Regions from separate parts of the Homo sapiens genome. Here all the other regions are linked to region 3. The links are contacts of gene promoters, found by promoter capture Hi-C in human tissues and cell types (Jung and others, 2019). All regions are on one chromosome and are shown on one strand. The core of a region is centred on a gene start or on the middle of the fragment in contact, and the rest is flanking DNA. Distances in the headings are between cores, read along the strand shown. Region 1 has its middle 11 kb from the start of NCF4-AS1. Region 2 has its middle 8.9 kb from the start of RAC2. Region 3 holds the start of TST (thiosulfate sulfurtransferase).

Region 1 (2,777 bases), core at 57-2,556, 140 kb after region 3:
TTCTGGACTGCCTCTGCACTCCAGAAAACAACACCCCAACTGCTCTGTATTCTGGTTTCAGCTCCTATCATAGTTTTTTTGGTGGGGAGTGGAAGAATCATTGGAGAACTCCTTTGCTTCTTGTGAGGCTCATAATTCCTCAAAGCCTGTGTCCTAGCTGAGGTCTGGTTGTTTTGTGGCAGAAAATTTTCTTGGTGAATGTGGTCAGGCAACAAACTAGAAGCCAAATAACTGGGTTTGGGAGATCACACCTTGCAAGGTCTTTTAAAATTTTTCTTAAATGGATATTTTCTAGTGTACTGTTGTGGTTCAAATTGTATTCTCCCCCAAAAGATATGTTGAATTTCTAACCCCAGTATCTCAGAATGCAGTGATCTTACATGAGATAGAGTCTTAGCTGGGTGCAGTGGCTCACACCTATAATCCCAGCACTTTGGGAGGCTGGGGCATGTGGATCACCTGAGGTCGGGAGTTGAAGACCAGCCTGACCAACATGGAGAAACCCCATCTCTACTAAAAATACAAAATTAACCAGGCGTGGTGGTGCACGCCTGTAATCCCAGCTACTCAGGAGGCTGAGGCAGGGGAATTGCTGGAACCCAGGAGGCAGAGGTTGCAGTGAGCTGAGATCACACCATTGCACTCCAGTCTGGGTAACAAGAGTGAAACGCCATCTCAAAAAAAAAAAAAAAAAAATAGAGTCTTTACAGAGCTAATCAAGTTAAAATGAAGCCATTAGAGTGAACTTCCTTTAATATTTTTTTGTAATGGCAAGTCTGCTTAACAATGAATATTCTCAGTTTTTGCTTATTTTGGAATGTTTTAATTTCACCTTCATTTTTGAGTGGTAGATTTGTTTTATGTAAGATTCTTGGTTGACAGGAAATCAGCTGTTAGTCTTAATGTAGTTCCCTTTTATGCGGTGAGTCATTTTTCTCTTTCTGCTTTCAAGATTTTCTCTTTATGTCTGGCTTTCAACATTTTGACTATGATGTGTTTAAGTGTGGCTTTCTTTGTATTTTACTACTTGGAGTTTGTTGAGCTTTTTGGATATGTAGATTGGTGGTTTTTTAAAAAATAAAAATTGGAAAGTTTCCAATCATTATTTCTTTTCATCCTTTTTCTGTCTCCTTCTCTCCTCTCTTTCTGGTAATCTCATTATGCATATGTTGGTACACTTCATGGGTCCCACATTTCTCTGATGCTCTGCTCATTTTTCTTCACTCCTTTTTCTTTATTTCTTTCTTAAGATTGCATCATCTCTATTGATCTATCTCTCAGTTTGCTTATACTTTCTCTGCTAACATTCTTTTGCCAACTCAAATCTACTGCTGAGCCTTTCTAGTGGACTTTTCATTTCAGTTATTGTTCTTTTCAACTCTAGAATTTCAATTTGGTTCTCTTTTAAAAAATTATTTATGTCTTTGTATTGATATTCTCTATTTGAAGAGTCATTGTTACAATACTTTCTTTTAATTCTTTAAACATGGTTTCCTTTAGTTATTTAAACATATTCCTAATATAAAGTCATTGTTTGCTAAGTCCAGCATCTGAATCCTTCCCTCAAAGGCAATTTTTTTAGTTTCCTTTGCCTGCTTTTATTTGCCTCCTGTGTATGGATTACACTTTGCTGTGTCTTTGCAATTCTTATAATTTTTTGTTGGGAACTATATTTGCCTGTTCTTGCACTGCTATAAAGAAATACCAGCTGGGTGCAGTGGTTCATGACTGTAATCTCAGCACTCTGGGAAGCCGAGGCAGGTGGATCACCTGAGGTCAGGAGTTCGCGACTAGCCTGGCCAGCATGGCAAAACCCCATCTCTACTGAAAGTACAAAAATTAGCTGGGCAAGGTTGGGGGTGCCTGTAATCCCAGCTACGCAGGAGGCTGAGGCAGGGGAATCACTTGAACCTGGGAGGCAGAGGTTGCAGTGAGCCGAGATCATGCCACTGCACTCCAGCCTGGACAACAAGAGCAAGACTCAGTCTCAAAACAACAACAACAACAACAACAACAACAAAAAACAAACAAAAAAACAAAAAAACACCTGAGACTGCATAATTTATAAGGAAAAGAGGTTTAGTTAGCTCTTGGTTCTACAGGCTATACAAGAAGCCTAGTGGCTTCTGCTTCTGAGGAGGCCTCAGGAAACCTTACAATGATGGTGGAAGATGAAGGGGAAGCGGGCAAGTTTTAAATGGCAAGAGCAGGGGAAGAGAGAGAGAAAGAGGAGGTGCCACATACTTTTAAATGGCCAGATCTCACTCACCATCGCAAGAACAGCACGGAGGGAATGGCACTAAACTATTTATGAGAATCCACCCCCATGATCCAACCACCTCCCATAAGGGTCCACTTTCAACCTGGGGATTATAATTAGACATTAGATTTGGGCAGGGACACAGATCCAAACCATATCAGGAACTGAACATTTTAGATTATATTTTGAAGCAACTCTAGATGCTGCTCTCCTATTCCCTCTAGGGCTTAATGTTTTTGTTATTTGGTTTGTTATCTGTTTACTTGTTTAGTGGCTTCACTGAACTAATTTTGTGAGGGCCGTTTCCCCTACAATGTGTAGCTTATGATGCCCCCGCTCGTATTTTTTCCTCTTGTGTTTTTTTTTTTTTTTTTCTCTCTTATCCTGGTTTCCTAGAGGTTGCACCTGGGTCTGCATAAACCACCTATTGGTGAAAAGTTGTGCTGAAGCCCCCTCAATTAGATTGGTTTCACCCCTTACTTTTGGCCGTGAATGTGGTTTGAAGACATCTTTTACA
Region 2 (3,227 bases), core at 202-2,701, 230 kb before region 3:
AAGAAAAGAAACAATAAAGATAAGAATAGAAATTAATTAAATGGGAAACAAATGTATAGTAGAAAGGATTAACAAGACCAAAATTTGGCTCTTTGAAAAGGTGAGTAAAATTAATGAAACTGGGGAGCAATTGATTAAGAACAAAGTTTGAAGGCATAAATAATCAATATAGGATAAAAAAAGGGAGATAACAGAAATTAGAGAGGAGAGATTCAAAAGATATAAAATAATACTATGAATAGCTTTACACTAATGAATTTGAAAACCCAAGCAAAATGGGCAACTTTCCAGAAAAATATCTAAAGCATGACTCAAGAAGTAATAGTGGCCGGGCGCGGTGGTTCATGCCTATAATCCCAGCACTTTGGGAGGTCAAGGTGGGCAGATTGCTTGAGCTCAGGAGACCATCTTGACCAATATGGTGAAACCTCATCTCTACTAAAAATAAAAAATTAGCCGGGCCTAGTGGTGCCTGCCTGTAGTCCCAGCTACTTGCGAGGCTGAGGCATGAGAATCACTGGAACCCAGGAGGTGGAGGTGGCAGAGAGCTGAGATCACACCACTGCACTCCAGCCTAGGTGACAGAGTAAGACTCTGTCTCAAAAAAAAAAAAAAAAAAAAGGAATTCCAAATAGTCCTATACCCCTTAAAGAAATTGAATTAGTAGTTTAAAATCTACCCCTCTTCCCCCTCTCCCCCATAATTCTGAAACCAGGTCCAGATACAGATGGCTTTATAAATTTTATAAAATATTTAAGGGAGAGATAATGTAATATTATCCAAACTGGCTGGGCGCGGTGGCTCACGCCTGTAATCCCAGCACTTTGGGAGGCCGAGGCGGGCAGATCACGAGGTCAGGAGATCGAGACCATCCTGGCTAACACGGTGAAACCCTGTCTCTACTAAAAATACAAAAAATTAGCCAGGCGTGGTGGTGGGCGCCTGTAATCCCAGCAACTCGGGAGACTGGGGCAGGAGAATGGAGAATGGTGTGAACCTGGGAGGTGGAGGTTGCAGTGAGCCGAGATCGTGCCACTGCACTCCACCTGGGTGACAAAGCAAGACTCCATCTCAAAAAAAAAAACAAAACATAATATTACCAACTCTCATAATGAAACTAGTATAACCTTGATAACAACAACAACAAAAAAAGACAAAGACAATATAAGGAAAATGACCGGCCGATCTCCCCACCCTACCTGTAAATATTGGCAATTTCAAGCCAGCAATACACAAAAGGCGATGCATCATGACTGACTGAGTGAGGGTGTGACTGAAGCTGCTGTAACAAAAAGATCTGAAAACGCAGTGGCTTAAAGAAGCAAAAGTGTATTTCTCTCTCAGGTCTCGAGCTGAGTGGTCTGGCTCTATGTTGCCCCCACATGGTTCCAGGATTGTTCTGGCGTTTTTATTTCCTACTCCGTGGGGAGAGGGGAAAATGCTGTACAGGATAAATGGTTTAGCTTCCAAGGAGATGATGCAGAAGTTGCTGACATCACTTCCATTTGCACCTTTTTCCCCCAGACATGATCATAGGGCCCACTCTGCTGCAAGGGAGACTGAGAAATGTCTTTAGCTGGGTGAATGTGTGGCTAGCCCCAATGCTGGGATCTCTGTTATTAAAAAGAAGCAGAGAACGGTTGCTTAGGGATACTCAGCAATAGTCCCCATATTAACTAAATTAGACTTATCTGGGAATGCAAGGAGAATTGGACATCAGAAAATGTATTAATATAATTCACAACATTTCCATGGGTACAGAAAAAGACATTCAATCAAATTAAACGCTTAATAATGATAAAACAAAACTGCCGTTTCTAAGAATAGTAGGGAAACTTCTTTCAGTGACAATAATATCCACCAAAAGCCTGCAGTAGACATCAGGTTCAATGGTGAAACATTAGAAACAGTCTCTTTAAAATCAGAAATAAGACAAGGTTGCCTGCCAGCACTGATTCCCTTCAGCCCTGTAATAAAAGATCTAGACAAGCCAAGGAATTAACGTTATAAAAATTGGGAAGGAAGAAATAAAACTGTCACTTTTCATAAATGATAAGACTGTCTATAAAGACAGCTGTAGACTTGTTAGGAGCAAAATCTTTACATAAATTAGAATGAGAATTTCCATCCAGGTTTCTATATAAGTTCAATATACAAAATGTGACATTTTCCCTACGTATGGGCAACAAATAGAAAATTCAATTTAAAAAATATTAGTTATAATGGCACTGAAAGTAATAAGGTATCAAGGAATGAATCTTTCAAAAAATGTGCATGACCTTTCCGGGGGGAAATTATAAAACTTAATTGAAAGATATAAAGAAGCAATATACCATGTTAATGGACAGGAAGACTCAATATATAAAGATGTCACTTCTCCCCAAGTTCCTCTAGAAATTGAATACAATTCTAATCAGAATCCTCACACAGTTTTTCTTGGAACTTGACAAGCTTATTATGAACTTTATATGAAAGAGCAAAGTGTCAGTGGTAACGATAACAATTTTGAAAACATTCAAGAGTGGATGATTTGCTCTGCTGGGTATAAAGATCTGATATAGAACTTCAGTAGTTGGCTGGGTGCAGTGGCTCACGCCTGTAAGTCATACCAGCACTTTGGGAGGTCAAGGCGGGCAGATCACCTGAGGTCAGGAGTTCAAGACCAGCTTGGCCAACATGTGAAACCCTGTCTCTACTAAAAATACAAAATTAGCTACATGTGGTGGCAGGCGCCTGTAATCTCAGCTATTTGGATGCTGAGGCAGGAGAATCACTTGAACCTGGGAGGTGGAGGATGCAGTGAGCCGAGATGGTGCCGTCGCACTCCAGTCTGGGCAACAGGAGTGAAACTCCGTCTCAAAAAAAAAAAAAAAAAAGAACTGCAGTAATTGAGGCAGTGTTTTACCGGCTTGAGGGTGGACCAAGAGTCCAATAGATGGAGAGGCTAGGAAAAGACTCATGCACTTATAGACTCTTGACATGTGATATGATTTGGATCTGTGTCCCCATCTAAATCTCATGTCAAATTGTAATCCCCAACAGTGGAAGTAGGGCCTGGTGGGAGGTGATTGGATCATGGGGGCGGAGTTTGCATGAATGGTTTAGCACCATCCTTCTTGGGTACTGTATAGTGAGTGAGTTTTTGTGAGATCTGGTTGTTTGAAAGTGTGTGGCACCTCTCACCCCCTTGGTCCTGTTCTTGCCATGGAAGATGTCTGTTTCCACTT
Region 3 (2,876 bases), core at 59-2,558:
CCTGGGAGGCGGAGGTTGCAGTGAGCTGAGATGGCGCCACTGCACTCCAGTCTGGGCCACAGAACCACAGCCTGTCTCAAAAAACAAAACAAAACAAAAGGTCAGGGTTGGGAAACAGGGAAAGCTTCCAGGCTGGCCTCTGCAAAAGCTAGGGAGGGGCAATGGTGTCCCCCAGTTTGCAAGAGCCCATGGCGAGCTTTTCAGGAATTTTGCCAACTGGTTGTTAAATACAGCTATTATTAAAAATTGAATTACATCAACTTATGATTAAACGGGCTAAGTTCAAAACAGGCAATTTTTTAAAAAGCATGAACCTTCAGGGAAGAGCCAGGTAAACAAAGGCAGCTGGTACCACGTGGGCTTCAGACCAGGGATCAGGCCCGGCCTCAACTCTGGGTGTGTCCTCCAGCAACTCGCTCTGCCGCTCTCTCCTGTCTTAGTAAGTTTCTGGCCTACTCCTCAGGGTTATTGTGGGAATTAAGTCACACCACGGGAGTACCCAGCAAAGTGCCACACCAAGCAGGGCTGGACAATGTTAGTTCCTTTCACTCACTAACAAGTTATTGGCTAGTGTCTCTTCCTGGGGCCTCTGGGTCAGCGGGGTCTCGTCTCCCTGTCCTCCTCTCTCTCCCCCGCCCTCTCTGGTGCCACCAGGTCACCCACTTCCACCCAAGGCTCCCCACCCGCCACTCGCCACGACCCCACCCGGCAGGCCGCCCCAAGCGGACAGTCACCCTTAGTGCCAACGTAGCGGCGCGCCTTCTCTCCTAGACTAAGCCCCCTCTTCCGCCCAGGTCCCGCGCGGGAGCCCCGCGCCGAGCACCCCCAAAGAGCCACTCCCTCCCCCTCCAGAAAGGCAAGCCGCCACGCCGCGGCAGTTACCCGGGTCTCGGACTCCCGGCTTCCTGGCTCCGCCATGGCCCCCGCGGCGCGGCGCCCCCTCCCCGCGCCCGCAGCTGTCCCCTCCTCCCGCCACCAACCTGCAGCGGACCAAAGGGAGGAGACTCCGGCACAGCCCACCGCCGCGGCCACTCGGAGCCGCTGCTGCCCGCGCCTTCCACTGGCCGGGCCGTGGGGGTACGCCCGCTCCGCCCAGCCCAGGCCCGCGCGGCCCCCGCGCCACCCGGCGTCCCCCTCAGACCCCCGCGGGTCCCGGAGGCCCCGCGCGCGAGGTTGGCAGGTGCCGGGCGCGAAGCGGCCGCGCGGGGGAGGCGCGGGATGGCGGCGGGCGGCGCAGGGTCCCCCTCTGGCGGTGGCGCGATGGTGCGCGCCGCCTGGGGAGCTGCGGCCGGGGGTTTGAACCGGCCAACTTCTCCAGCCGGCCGGGGCGAGCGCCAGCGCGGCGTCCGGGGCGAGTGAGTGCGGGGCGGGGGCAGCGGCCGGGCGCCTGGGCCGCCGGTCGGGCCACCTGCTGCCCGGGGAAGGATAGCGTTGCGAGAGTGGGACGGGGTGCCCCGGGAACCCCTGATCCACCTAGGGCAGAGGGCAGCGAGCTACGGGCCGGACTCGGGCACTCTGGAGGCGGGCGAGCTCGGGCTGCCTGGGGAGGCCGCAGGCGATGGCGTGTGCGCGGCTCGCGGAGCTTCCTAGCCGTGCGCCCACCCCCTCTGCCTTGGAAGGAAAGGGGATTCTAAGCCCAAGATGCCATCGCCCCCCATCCCGGGCATGCTTTCATTGCTCTTTCCTGGCGGGATCGAGTACTGTAACTTCTAGGAGCCAGATCCCCGCCCCAGGAAGCGCCCCTACTTGGAGTCCTCGGAAACTCTTGCCCCACCCGCTTCTGCGCTGGGCCCCCGGGCCGGCTGGGAGGGGCGGGGCCGGCTTTCCAGAGGGAATCTGCAAACTTATCCCGCTGCACGCCCCAGCCTCGCTGGCTTGCTGTAAACAAGGAACCCGGGGGAGTGCGGAGGGAGAAAGAGCTTCTCCCAGGCCTCACCCTACTGCACACACCGACTTCCTTCCTCACGCCTGTCTCTCTTTCCTGGTTCCCACCCGTGCCAGGTGACACGCAGAGCTGAAGCCATGGTTCATCAGGTGCTCTACCGGGCGCTGGTCTCCACCAAGTGGCTGGCGGAGTCCATCAGGACTGGCAAGCTGGGGCCCGGCCTGCGGGTGCTGGACGCGTCCTGGTACTCACCAGGCACCCGAGAGGCCCGCAAGGAGTACCTCGAGCGCCACGTACCCGGCGCCTCTTTCTTTGACATAGAAGAGTGCCGGGACACGGCGTCGCCCTACGAGATGATGCTGCCCAGCGAGGCTGGCTTCGCCGAGTATGTGGGCCGCCTGGGCATCAGCAACCACACGCACGTGGTGGTGTATGATGGTGAACACCTGGGCAGCTTCTATGCTCCCCGGGTCTGGTGGATGTTCCGTGTGTTTGGCCACCGCACCGTATCAGTGCTCAATGGTGGCTTCCGGAACTGGCTGAAGGAGGGCCACCCGGTGACATCCGAGCCCTCACGCCCAGAACCGGCCGTCTTCAAAGCCACACTGGACCGCTCCCTGCTCAAGACCTACGAGCAGGTGCTGGAGAACCTTGAATCTAAGAGGTTCCAGCTGGTGGATTCAAGGTCTCAAGGGCGGTTCCTGGGCACCGAGCCGGAGCCGGATGCAGTAGGTAGGTGTCCCAGTGCTGGGTGGTCCCTGGGGAGTATTGCCCCATGGAAGGATAGGGAGTAAGGATGACTGGGACCCTCTCCAGGGTCCGTCCCATGCCTTCAATCCTCCCATGTAGGCCTCAGTCTTTCCATCGATAAAACCAGAAAGTGGAGACAAACCTAAAGGCTTTTTCAGCTTGGATGCACAAGGACCCAAGAATGTGTCCTCATAGCCATGTGCTAAGAAGCCACCTAGCATCTGTGTGAGCAGAAGTCACT

The links. Contacts are between HindIII fragments. The study calls those that stand out against the background at their distance.
Region 1: a contact is called between a fragment that was not itself captured here and the fragment with the promoter of TST in region 3, in 1 of the 25 tissues and cell types used here (spleen).
Region 2: a contact is called between a fragment that was not itself captured here and the fragment with the promoter of TST in region 3, in 1 of the 25 tissues and cell types used here (lymphoblastoid cells).

Annotation. Positions count from the first base shown.
Region 1 is chr22:36,880,211-36,882,987 of GRCh38, reverse strand. No RefSeq gene overlaps it. Among named protein-coding and RNA genes, the nearest start is that of NCF4-AS1, 11 kb to the right of the region's middle. The HindIII fragment of the contact is 9,229 bases long and covers 1-2,777 here.
Region 2 is chr22:37,251,520-37,254,746 of GRCh38, reverse strand. No RefSeq gene overlaps it. Among named protein-coding and RNA genes, the nearest start is that of RAC2, 8.9 kb to the right of the region's middle. RefSeq lists an enhancer at 939-1,440. The HindIII fragment of the contact is 6,144 bases long and covers 1-3,227 here.
Region 3 is chr22:37,017,879-37,020,754 of GRCh38, reverse strand. TST (thiosulfate sulfurtransferase) reads left to right here and starts at 1,308. Exons shown (of 3, transcript NM_003312.6): 1 at 1,308-1,355; 2 at 2,002-2,617. The coding sequence starts at 2,023. It overlaps MPST (mercaptopyruvate sulfurtransferase), which reads right to left and starts at 1,013. Exons shown (of 3, transcript NM_021126.8): 1 at 883-1,013. The coding sequence starts at 918. RefSeq lists silencers at 697-1,016, 1,027-1,146, 1,177-1,566, 1,727-1,786 and enhancers at 1,260-1,761, 1,790-2,765. The HindIII fragment of the contact is 8,246 bases long and covers 1-2,876 here.